Regions from separate parts of the Homo sapiens genome. Here all the other regions are linked to region 2. The links are contacts of gene promoters, found by promoter capture Hi-C in blood cells and fetal thymus (Javierre and others, 2016). All regions are on one chromosome and are shown on one strand. Each heading gives the region's core, a stretch centred on a gene start or on the middle of the fragment in contact. The rest is flanking DNA. Distances are from core to core; before and after follow the strand shown.

What was found. Contacts are between HindIII fragments. The CHiCAGO score rates a contact against its expected background, and 5 or more counts as called.
Region 1: a contact is called between a fragment that was not itself captured here and the fragment with the promoter of HDDC2 in region 2, in 2 of 17 cell types (M1 macrophages and M2 macrophages). The highest score is 5.3, in M1 macrophages.
Region 3: a contact is called between a fragment that was not itself captured here and the fragment with the promoter of HDDC2 in region 2, in 1 of 17 cell types (megakaryocytes). The highest score is 5.1, in megakaryocytes.
Region 4: a fragment that was not itself captured here is called in contact with the fragment with the promoter of HDDC2 in region 2 in 1 of 17 cell types (erythroblasts); the score reaches 5.1 in erythroblasts.

The regions. Positions count from the first base shown.
Region 1 is chr6:125,146,290-125,148,989 of GRCh38, reverse strand. No RefSeq gene overlaps it. Among named protein-coding and RNA genes, the nearest start is that of TPD52L1, 6.1 kb to the left of the region's middle. The HindIII fragment of the contact is 2,850 bases long and covers 1-2,691 here.
Region 2 is chr6:125,300,632-125,303,331 of GRCh38, reverse strand. It overlaps HDDC2 (HD domain containing 2), which reads left to right and starts at 1,365. Exons shown (of 6, transcript NM_016063.3): 1 at 1,365-1,483; 2 at 2,673-2,700. The coding sequence starts at 1,400. RefSeq lists a silencer at 1,336-1,675. The HindIII fragment of the contact is 13,888 bases long and covers 1-2,700 here.
Region 3 is chr6:125,531,252-125,533,951 of GRCh38, reverse strand. No RefSeq gene overlaps it. Among named protein-coding and RNA genes, the nearest start is that of LINC02523, 140 kb to the left of the region's middle. RefSeq lists an enhancer at 1-441. The HindIII fragment of the contact is 320 bases long and covers 1,268-1,587 here.
Region 4 is chr6:125,513,856-125,516,555 of GRCh38, reverse strand. No RefSeq gene overlaps it. Among named protein-coding and RNA genes, the nearest start is that of LINC02523, 160 kb to the left of the region's middle. The HindIII fragment of the contact is 1,018 bases long and covers 866-1,883 here.

The sequences.
Region 1 (2,700 bases), core at 17-2,516, 150 kb after region 2:
TTAACATGAGACAGTCATGTTTTCAGACAAGACTAGAAACTCACAGTCCTGTCCCAAGGCTTGCCTGGTCATGCGATTAGAAAGCATGACAAGGAGTAAGAAATATCAACTCAGGTCTCTACCGATAGCACTATAACTCATATAAGAACGAAGTTTGTTTAGAAAGTTGATCATTCTATAGGGGTGAAATGCAGTAGAAATCTCAACTGTCCAAAGGAAATGTGTATTCAACAGTTTTTACTTACACCAGTTCCCGGTCACTTGTAATGTATGGGTCTGAAGGCATCGTGGGAGGTGGACAGGGCACAGAAATGAGAGGAAGGAGTAGAAAGGACAGGTGAAGTGTGCTGCTCTGGCCTATGAACTTTACAAATACATTGAAAGAGAACATGAGCTTTGGGGCTCCATTAGATTCCCACTCTGAAAACTACCAGCTGTATCACCTAAAGGAATTGTCTCAGTCTCTCTGTGCCTGGCTTTCTGCATTTGTGTCACGATGCTATATGAGGTATTAATGGGCATGTTCTTTCCCTCCTATCCCACTGGGCACCTGTGCTTTTAAAGCAGTGGTTCCCAGTCATCTTCTACATCAGCACCACATGAGTGGCTTTTAAACATTTCTGATACCTGGGTTCTACCCCACAAGTATTCTGATTTGTCTTTTTAAATCTCTCTCGGTGATACTGATGTGCTTCCAAGATTGACAATGACCATTTCAGAAACTGTCCACAACAAAGATGAAAGGTTCTATAGTCTCAGCTTTTAAATTAAAACGTTGTCACCCAAGTAAACAGAAAATAATGAAAAAGAAATATGAGCAGGCAGCACAAGAATTTTTACCCCTAATTCCAGGGGAGTTGGAGAGGAAAAAAACATTGGGGAGGGCAGAGAAGTATGAAAGATTTAGACATGGCTCTGTCTACAGATTTCACCCTTCTTCTCCTTACTCCCATGAGAGCAAAGAGAACCTGGCCTCGACAATTGCATTGAGAACTCTGATGGCCAGATAGTTTTGAGAAACCTTAGGGATAGAACAAGTGCTCTTTGTCACTTTGAATTTTTCACCCTCTCAAGTGGTGTAGGAAGCCAGAGAGGAGTTTCCTTGAAGCCCCAGGTAGGGGGTGGAAGTTAGTGAGGAGAGAGAACTAGCTAGTAAGCCAATATCCCCAGGAGGCTGGAGAAAGGCAGCTTCCATTTCCTGAAGCCACATGAAGAAAAGGGTGCAACAGAATCTTTCATGAGGGTAGGAGGGGCTGCACAAAGGGAGAGGCATTCAGAACTCAGCCTAGCTGGAGGACTTACTGACCTCACCCCACATCATACTACTAAGCTGGGCAAAAGGAATGAGGAGAGATAGTTTGATTGCTCAGAAAGGGGACCAGCACCACCTTTTTTCCACCTCTACCAACTTCCCAGTTCTCAGGAAACATGGAAATTGGAGTCTACCCACCAGAGAGTTGGCTTTGGAGGAGGCCAGGGGAGATTAGTTGGCTGAATACTAGCTAGGACCACTGAAGCCGAAAGCTAGAGGTGAAGTGGACATCAGAGAGGTGCAGCACAAGGCCTGGCTAGGTTCCACCAGGGCCTGCAGGAGCTGCTGGTGAGTGAACACACTGTCAACCTCATCCATCTGGATATGGGGTCATTTGGGTTTTCTTTTCCCCTTCCTCTCAATTCCCATCCCACACACTTAGTCAAGAGGAGCTGGTTCCCAGAAGTGACAGGGTCCATAGACACCCAAAAACTAACTTTTGCATCATAACCTTCCAACACACACACACACACACACACACACACACACACACACACACACATGTTCCAAGCAGTGCTGAGAGAAGAAAGGAAAAGAGATTGTTGAGGCTCAGAACACTATACACCAAAGTATGGCACATTGGCATGCCAAATACTAGGTCCCTTTCCTTCACTTCAAAGCATTCAAATACATTCCTCTAACCTTGCCCCACCTTTCTGTGTAGGAGCTGGCCATAAATTATTTGGCCTACCTTGACTGATAGTAGGTCACAAGACCCTCATTCTAGAGTGGTTCTGCCCCACACCCTGGAGGGAGGAGCACCACACCAAGAGGCCAAGAAGCATCCAACAGCCAAGCCTTGCTTGGTGTGTTAGGATGTTCTTGCATTGCTTTAAATACTTGGGACTGGGTAGTTTATTTTAAAAAGAAGTTTAATTGACTCTCAGTCCTGCAGACTGTACAGGAAGCATGTCTTCAGCATCTGCTTGGCTTCCGAGGAGGTCACAGGGAGCTTTTACTCACAGTAGAAGGTGAAGCAGGAGTCGGCATATCACATGGCAAGAGAGGGGCAAGAGAGAGAGAGTAGGAGGTGCCCCACACTTTTAAATGACCAAATCTTCCGCGAACTCACTTATCAGAAAGGGGATGGTGCTAATCCATTCATGAGGGAGCCGCTTCCGTGAGCCAAGGACCTCGCATTGCACCCTACCTCCAACACTGGGTATTACATTTCAACATGAGGTTTGGTGGGAACACAGATCCAAACCGTATCACTGGGTTTCCCCTCTCAACCTATGACCATTAGATCATACCCCTTCTGTTCAATCACATTTCCTCATGGCTGTCCATTCTTCACTGAACATAAAATTAAGCATAAAAATAGAGTTTTCTTAGGTCTTTAGGTCTTCATTTATGAAGACTCCCCGTCACATAAAGCTTTGATTAAA
Region 2 (2,700 bases), core at 116-2,615:
TTTCCAATTTTGGCAAAAGAGAGCAAAGAAAGCCTCCTAGCTCCCTGAGTAAGGTTAGAGCAAGCAGCATCCTCTAGCTGATCTACAATAGACACTTAGCATGAGAGAGAAATAAACCTTTGATGTGTTAAACTGCTGAGATACAGGAAATAAGGAGGTTGTTTGTTATTATAACATCCCAGCCTATACTTTGCTTCCTAATTTGGTGAGAAAATAGAAGCAATCAGAAGAGAACTTCTACAACCTCCCATGACCACATGTGCGACTGATTAGTCACCCTATACTCTGTCCTCCTCCAATATTTGAATGAATTCTCCATATTCCTATCTAAAGCCCATCTTTTATCTTGTACACCAGATGGGAATATTTTTCCTTACTCAAGGCCGACATTCAAATATTTCTCTTCTTTGTCTCTTACATAATCAATGTTTCCCTTTCTACTAGATCCCCTTCATCAGTAAACATACATAATATCTCCTGTTTTGAAACAATCTCTCCACTAGTTAACAGCACCCCAACCCCATCTCCAATGTGCTGTAATACTTGCTCCTATTCTCTTCGGAATTATCTCACTAGGTTCTGCTTGGCCCACTACACTGAAAACTGCTTTTGTCAGGGTAACCAATAATATTGAATTTACTAAGTCTGGAAGTCAAACCTTGGTCCTCACATTGACTTGGTTGACCATATTCCTTCCTTCTTGAAATATTTTTGTACATGGCTTCCAGGACACAACTATCCTACCTACTAATCCTCTTCCTACCTCACTGGCTGTTCCCTCTTGATCTCACAAAGCCTAAATGTTGGGGTTCAGGTCTTGGGTGTCTTTTCTTCTTCATTCACACCCTCTTGCCAGGTGACCTCATCCAGTTTCATGGTTTTACACTGTCAACTGAAGAATAACGAGGTTCATAAATTTAGAAAGGAGAGCTTTATTTTTCATAAAGAGTACTGAGTGTCAAGTATGTGCCAAGCAAGGTGTCTGCCACTGACGGAGCAATGCCCAAGCAGCGGACACCAAGGCCAAGAAGGCGAAGGCTGGACAGAAGGTCCTGAGAAAACCGTGAGAATATGGAGGAGGGGGAGGAGGAATAAGAACAGGAGGAGGAGGGGGAGGAGGAATAAGAACAGGAGGAGGAGGAAGAGGAGGGGGAGAGAGGAAGAGGGGCAGGAGGAAGAGGAAGAGGAGAAAGCGGAAGTGGGGGAGGAGGAGGAGGAGTTGGAAGGGGAGGAGGAAGAGGGGGAGCAGGAAGAGGGGCAGAAGGAAGAAGAAGAGGGGGAGGAGAAAGAGATAGAAGAGTAAGAGGAGGGGGAAGAAAGACAAGGGGAAGGGGAGGAGGAGGAGGACGGGGAGGAGCTTCGCCGCGGCCTGCTCCGCCCAGCCGGGGTCGGTGGCCGCATGGCTTCGGTCTCCTCTGCGACCTTCTCGGGCCACGGGGCTCGGTCCCTACTGCAGTTCCTGCGGCTGGTAGGGCAGCTCAAGGTGAGCGGGCACCAGGCCGGGAGGCCGCGGCCGAGCGGGCGGGACTGTGGGGCGGCGGAGCTTCCGGCCTCCCCGCTCGGCCGGCGGTCTTTGCCCTTCCTGCGCCGCGTCCGCCACGCCGAATTCCGGAAAGGCCCCAGTCCTGCGGATGCGGCCGCGCGTTGCCGACGGTGGACGGAGGAAGCAGCCGGCGGGACAGGCTGGCCAGCTGGGGCGGCCCGGAGTCTGAGCCTAGAGCCTGGCGCCGCGAGGTCCGCACTGCAGCCGCGCCAGTTCCCGGAGAGCAGCCGGCCTGGCCCTGCCTGCACTGAGCTTTTCCGGGGCTCACGACCCCAGAACTCGTGTGTGTGTGTGTGTGTGTGTGTGCTCACGACCCCAGAACTCGTGTGTGTGTGTGTGTGTGTGTAAAGCGCGGCTGCTTCTGAGCACGGGTGGGAAGAACAGAATCTGTCGGCTCCTCAGATTTTAAGTGGAGCTTTTTATGTCTGTCTCACAGTTACTTCCAGAAACAAGACTTTTCTCCCGGCCACCCCCCAAACGGGATTTAATGTAATACACACGAGTTTCATCATGTGCGTCTTCCCCGTCTCTCTCCCAAGTTCAAAGTAAATTATCCGTTTCATGCCACTCTGACTACTATTTATAACATTCCTTAGAGATGTAGAATTCTGAGGAAGAAATGCAGTTTCACAAGATGAAGTTATGATGTGAATAAAAGGAAGAGTCACGGCTGGTAGCATCAAGCAATTAGAAGTGCCCTTATCCCTTGTGCCTCAGAATTTGGAAGCCTATCACTCGTTCACGTTCAGACCCTTCAATACAGTGTTTTCTGCTTGTGTAGGATTATTTGAAGGCAAAAAGCCGCAACTCTTGTTCGGAAAAATGCAGTTTTGTTTTTGTTTAAAGGACTTGCATATGTTCCATAATTATACATCAGTAACAGAATAATTTGACGAATGGACTTTGTGACTTATCTCTCTCTGTCTTCTACCCCTTTCATTCTCTGAGCTCTCTAGTTCATTTGATTCCAGATGTCTATCATTTTAGCTAGTTTAGCAAAACATTTTGTAATAGGTTCTGAAATTATGACCCGGCTTCTGTGTGTTATATCCTGGACATCTCTTGAAGAGCATAGCAGATAGTTAATATTTGTTCTTTAAAACTTCTTTTTCTTCTTCATATTTATCAGAGAGTCCCACGAACTGGCTGGGTATACA
Region 3 (2,700 bases), core at 178-2,677, 230 kb before region 2:
GGTGACCAAGTCTTGGGGGCTCCTGAAGTCTCAAGCAGCAGAGAAGCCAAGAAGGCACCGAAGAACCGACTGTACCCCTGGGTTTGGAGTCTCTGGGAAGGCCTCCCTGCGCCCCTCCACGTGGGAGTCAGGAGCAAGCTGCCTGCCCCTTTCTGCCTCCCCAAACAACACCGCACGGCATATACCCGAGGAGTGCGTGGCTCCTGCCCTGGGATTGGGACTCATCTGGAATTACCTACAGTAGAGTCATTAGAAACTCTTCTAGCCCGCTTCCTGTTTGGGGGTAGCATATTAGGAGCAGGACCACTGTCGGGAGATTCCTGCCATCTCTAATGTTCCTCTGTGGATCCCCCCACGCCCACCCCAGTGGAAGTGATTAAGACTAGCTCTGGAGGTGGCCTGGGGCAGGGGTGGTGGCTGAACTGCCCTCTGATCTCTACTGCCCTCCCCCATTAAGCAACCACCAATAAAAATAACGTATGTTTTGTATGCAGTGTGTGTGTGTGACTACTGCTGTTTTTTAAATGTAGTATTTACAAAAGCATCTTTTTCAAAAGGTGGATGGAGACTTAAAGATGGTACTCTCAGAGTGAAAGGAAGGGAGGATGTGGTTAAGAACAGAGTTACTCCCTTATAGAGGGTTTCACTTTATGGGAAATCTCCCCTGGAGCTTTGAAAAAGTCATGTTTAACACATAGTTTGACGTTTTTTGTGTGGTGAGGTTATGGAGAGAGTAAAAGATGGGGCTGCAGATGGAGACAAGGCTTGCCTCACACTCCTCCATCCTCCCTATGGGCTCTTGAAGAGGAAGCAGAATTTTACAGGGTATCTTGGGTCAACAGCAGCCAGGTATGATGTGGCCCGTGGCTCACAGTGGAGCAGGAAGGAACCCTCAGCTCAAAGAACAGTGGTCAACTGGATGACCTGAAAGCAGATGGGAGACAGAGAGAAGTGATCCTAGGGTCAAGGGAAATAACTGCCATTGGAGTAATAAATTAATTGTGTGATTAGTTGTTTAATGTATGTCCCTCTCATTAAATTAGAAATTCCATGTGGACAAGGATTATATATAGAGTTACATTCAATACATAGTTTTTAAATGGGTAACTAAATACATTGATAGCACTATTGATTTTTTAAAATAGTTTCTTATTTACCTATTCAATATATATTTTTTAAGAAATGCACATAACACATTGATTCTCCTCTCCAGGCTAAGCATTGGACAGGCACTAAGAATAATTAGAGCAAATAAATAAATAAAGCTTCCTCATTAGGATATTCTTCTCTGCTATAGTTCCCCAAACTTATGGAGCTTGCTTGTAGAATTCAGCCCTGCAAAAAGTTATTTTCATACAGTGTACTGAAAACAGCCCTGAATATGCTACTCACATTAACTGGACTTACTGATGACTTCCCTATTTCCCCCAGTTAAAATGGTCTCTTTCCTTTATTCTTACAAAGGAAATTTAGGAGTCTTAGAGACTTTAGCTCATTTATCTCTCAAATTCCCAGAGCACTTACAACAATGCCCAGTTTGGTTGAATTAAAGTAGATTTCTAAAGTTAGAACCCATCTTTAGAAGCTTGAAGAGGAAAGGAGCCTAGAATTGATAGTAAACCATTTTCTAAATGTTCTGGAAGGTAGTATAGCTGATTATCTCTTAGTCTTGGGCAAAGACTTGTAGGGCGTGGCTTTGGAAACTAGAAGGAAACTTGAAAACAAGTTATAAATATTCCTCATTTTATAGATAAGAATAGAAGACAGTAGGGTTTAGCTTCTATTTTTAGCTCTGCTACTCCATGTTTGGTTATTCTTAGACAATTTCACCCATCTTCTTAGTTTTATCATATCTGCCCTAACTGCAACACAGGATTTTAAAGAGATTATAGATATGAAAGTACTCAAGAGAAGTTTAAAGTGCCATATAAATGTAATGCCTCTGGACAACTAGGTGGGTGATGATTCAGTTTTCTAGTACCCAGAAGTGGCTTCAGAGAAAGCAAATCCTGACTATTCCTTCAAATGAGGTAATATAGGTAAAGCTCTAAGCACAGCTCCAGGCTCATAGGAGTATTTAATAAATATTTGCTATTTTTTCTTTCCTATCCTGGTAAATACAATCATTTTTTAACAGCACAAGGACCCATTGCACTTGAAAAATAAACCTGTCTTGATTTATACTGAAAATGTGAGATGTGTATGGGATATTGTTACCTTCACTAATACAACAAGCTAAAAGACAATATTTTCGGGTTGAAGGAATAAAACCCATGCATCAAGACCTGGAACTAATCCCAGGGAGCAAATTGCATATGTTTTATCCTCAGTATGTTCTTATCTTTCTTTAGGTACATTACTTACCTAAAGTACCTTGGGTTAAAACTTTGTTTTTAAGGATCAGATTTAAAATAACACTCTATGACCCTAGTGGTTTTGGTTTAAAAATTATGACACATATTTACACCATCTACCTACAAGTTCAGGATTTGGCGGCAGGGGAGTAGAGATGATTATGATACTTCCTACTTATTCATAACATTTAAATAACTAGAACACAAAGATGAGGTACCTTTTGCCTAAATAGTTGAAGCTTCAAAGAACAAATTCTTTATTTTTAAAAAAATTCATTTTAGGAAGAGGTTTGTCTCAGTTCTTTATCTAACAGCAGAAGCTGCTGAATGGAAATATATCATCTCA
Region 4 (2,700 bases), core at 125-2,624, 210 kb before region 2:
GGGAAAGAGTGAGGGTCTAACAACAAAACAAACAAACAAGCAAACAAAAACAAAAACATGTTGTGATGCATGCCTGTAAACTCAGCTACTTGAGAAGCTGAGGTGGAAGGATTTCTTGAGCCTAGGATTTCGAGAGAAGCCTGGGCAATATAGTGATACCACATCTAAAAAGTAAACAACCAAGCAGACAAAAAAAAAGGGAGGGCCTGAAAAAATAGTCAAAGAAAAAATGATTGAAAACTACCCAAATTTGGTGAAAGCTACAAACCAATAGATAATAAACTCAGCAAAACTCAAGCATAATAAATCAAAATAAATCCACACCCAGATGACACATAATAATCAGATTTTTGAAAACTAAAAGCAAAGACAAAATCTTGAAAGTAGCCAGAGAAAATAATACATCAGTTTTAGGAGATCAATGATTTGAATCACTGTGGGTTTCTCCTCAGAAATTACAGAAGCCAGAAGAAAGTGGCACAACATTTTTCAAGTAATTTTTCTTTACAAAAACAGTTGTCAAGTCAGAATTCTATATCTAACAAAAATTTCTCTCTAGTTTGGGAAAACTTTAAGCAGGGAATGAAACTAGAGGTCTGAGAAATAAAGAAGTATCCCAGGGGTCAGTGTGGAGATTGGTGTACTGAAGTGAACAAGGAGGTACTAGGAAATAGAGACATTTTTAGATGAAGAAAACTAAGAGAATGTGTCAAAGAAAATTCTTCAGACATAAAGAAAATAATATAGAAAAAACTTGGAACATCAGAAATAAAAAAATAGAAAAAGTAATACATAAAGAAATATAATTGACCATTATTGATTTTTAGATGAAGGCAAGTAAAGAGATTTAAATGATGATAAAGCTTTTGCATTCTACTTGGAATGGTAAAATATTGATAATAATAGACAGTAATAAGTATGAATATTTTAAACTACATGAAGTGAGAAATAAAATCATTATAGAGAAATTAAAATTGAATTCTAAAAAAGTTTATATAACTCACAGGAAGGTCCAAAAAAGAAGACAGAGAAACAAAAAGCAGTGGAAACAAACAGAAAACAAATAATAAAACAGCATACCTGAATTCTAAAAAACTAACAAGTACTTCTTTTTTTTTTTTTTTTTTTTTTTGAGACAAAGTCTTCCTCTTGTCCCCCAGGCTGGAGTTCAATGGCATGATCTCAGCTCACTGCAACCTCCACCTCCCGGGTTCAAGCGATTCTCTTGCCTCAGCCTCCCGAGTAGCTGGGATTACAGGTGCCTGCCACCATGCCCAGCTAATTTTTGTATTTTTTGTAGAGACAGGGTTTCACCATGTTGGCCAGGCTGGTCTCAAATTCCTGACCTCAGGTGATCCACCCGCTTCAGCCTCCTAAAGTGCTGGGATTACAGGTGTGAGCCACTGTGCCCGGCCTCAGTTACTTTTAAAGTAAGTGGTCTACACATACTAATTAAAAGACAAAGATTGACAAAATGGATTTTAAAATCCAACTTCATGCTGCCTACAAGAGGCTTACTTCAACTCTAGGTATGTTATAGGTAATTTAAAAGTACAGGAAAATTGTACAAACATTAATCAAAAGAAATTTGGTATGTCCATATTAATATCAGACAAAGTAGACTTCACAGCAAAGAAAATTATCAAGGACAAAGAGAGACACTACAAAATGATAAAAAGAGTTAATTAACCAAAGAACACATACCAGCCCTAAACATGCATGCACCAAGCAACAGAATTTCAAAATACATGAAGCAAAAAGGGACATAACTGAAAGGAGAAATAGGAAAACCCTCACTTATATCTGGGGGCTTCTCTCAGTAATTAATAAATTACTAGACAGAAGATCTGCACAAAATCTGAACACAAATGTTCATAGAAGCTTTATTTGTAAGAGTAAGAAACTAGAAACAAATATCTTTCCACAGGTGGATGTATAAACAAATTATGGTACATCTGTACAATGGAATACTACTCAGTGATGAAAAGAAATAAGCTGTTGATATATGCAACAACTTGATGGGTATTATGCTGCATGACAAAAAAAATCTTTAAATATTATATAATGTATAGTTCCATTTATATAACATTCTCGAAAGGACTAAATTATACTTATGCACAACAGATCAGTGCTTGCCAAGTTTAGAGTTTGGGGGAAGGCATAATTATAAATGGGTGATAAACAGTTCTGTATCTTGATTACAATTATTGTTACAGAAATCTGCATATGTGATAAAATGTCATAGAACTAAACACCAAAGAAAGTACACATTAAAACTGGTAAAATCCAAATAAAGTCTGTAGTTTAGTTAATAGTATTGTACTGACTTCAATTTTCTAGCTTAGATCATTGCTCTATGGTTATGTAAGATGTTATTATTGGGGGAAACTGGATGAAGGGTACATGAAACTCCCTGTGCTATTTTTTTCAACAACTATATTAGCTTTAAATTATTTCCAAAATAAAATCAACTGAATTTTTAATTTGATTGAATATTCAGTCATTGAAATAGCTACATGTGGCCTATGACTTCAGTATTGGACAGAGCAGGTCTATATTAAGTTCTGCCAAATAACTTTACATTTTTCTTTGTTTTTACTCTTACGTTCTTGTAGAAAAGTTTCACATATGAAAATTTTATTTAACACATAATATGTAATCCATATTGTTTAGATGTCTCTGATGGAGGTATAATGCTTT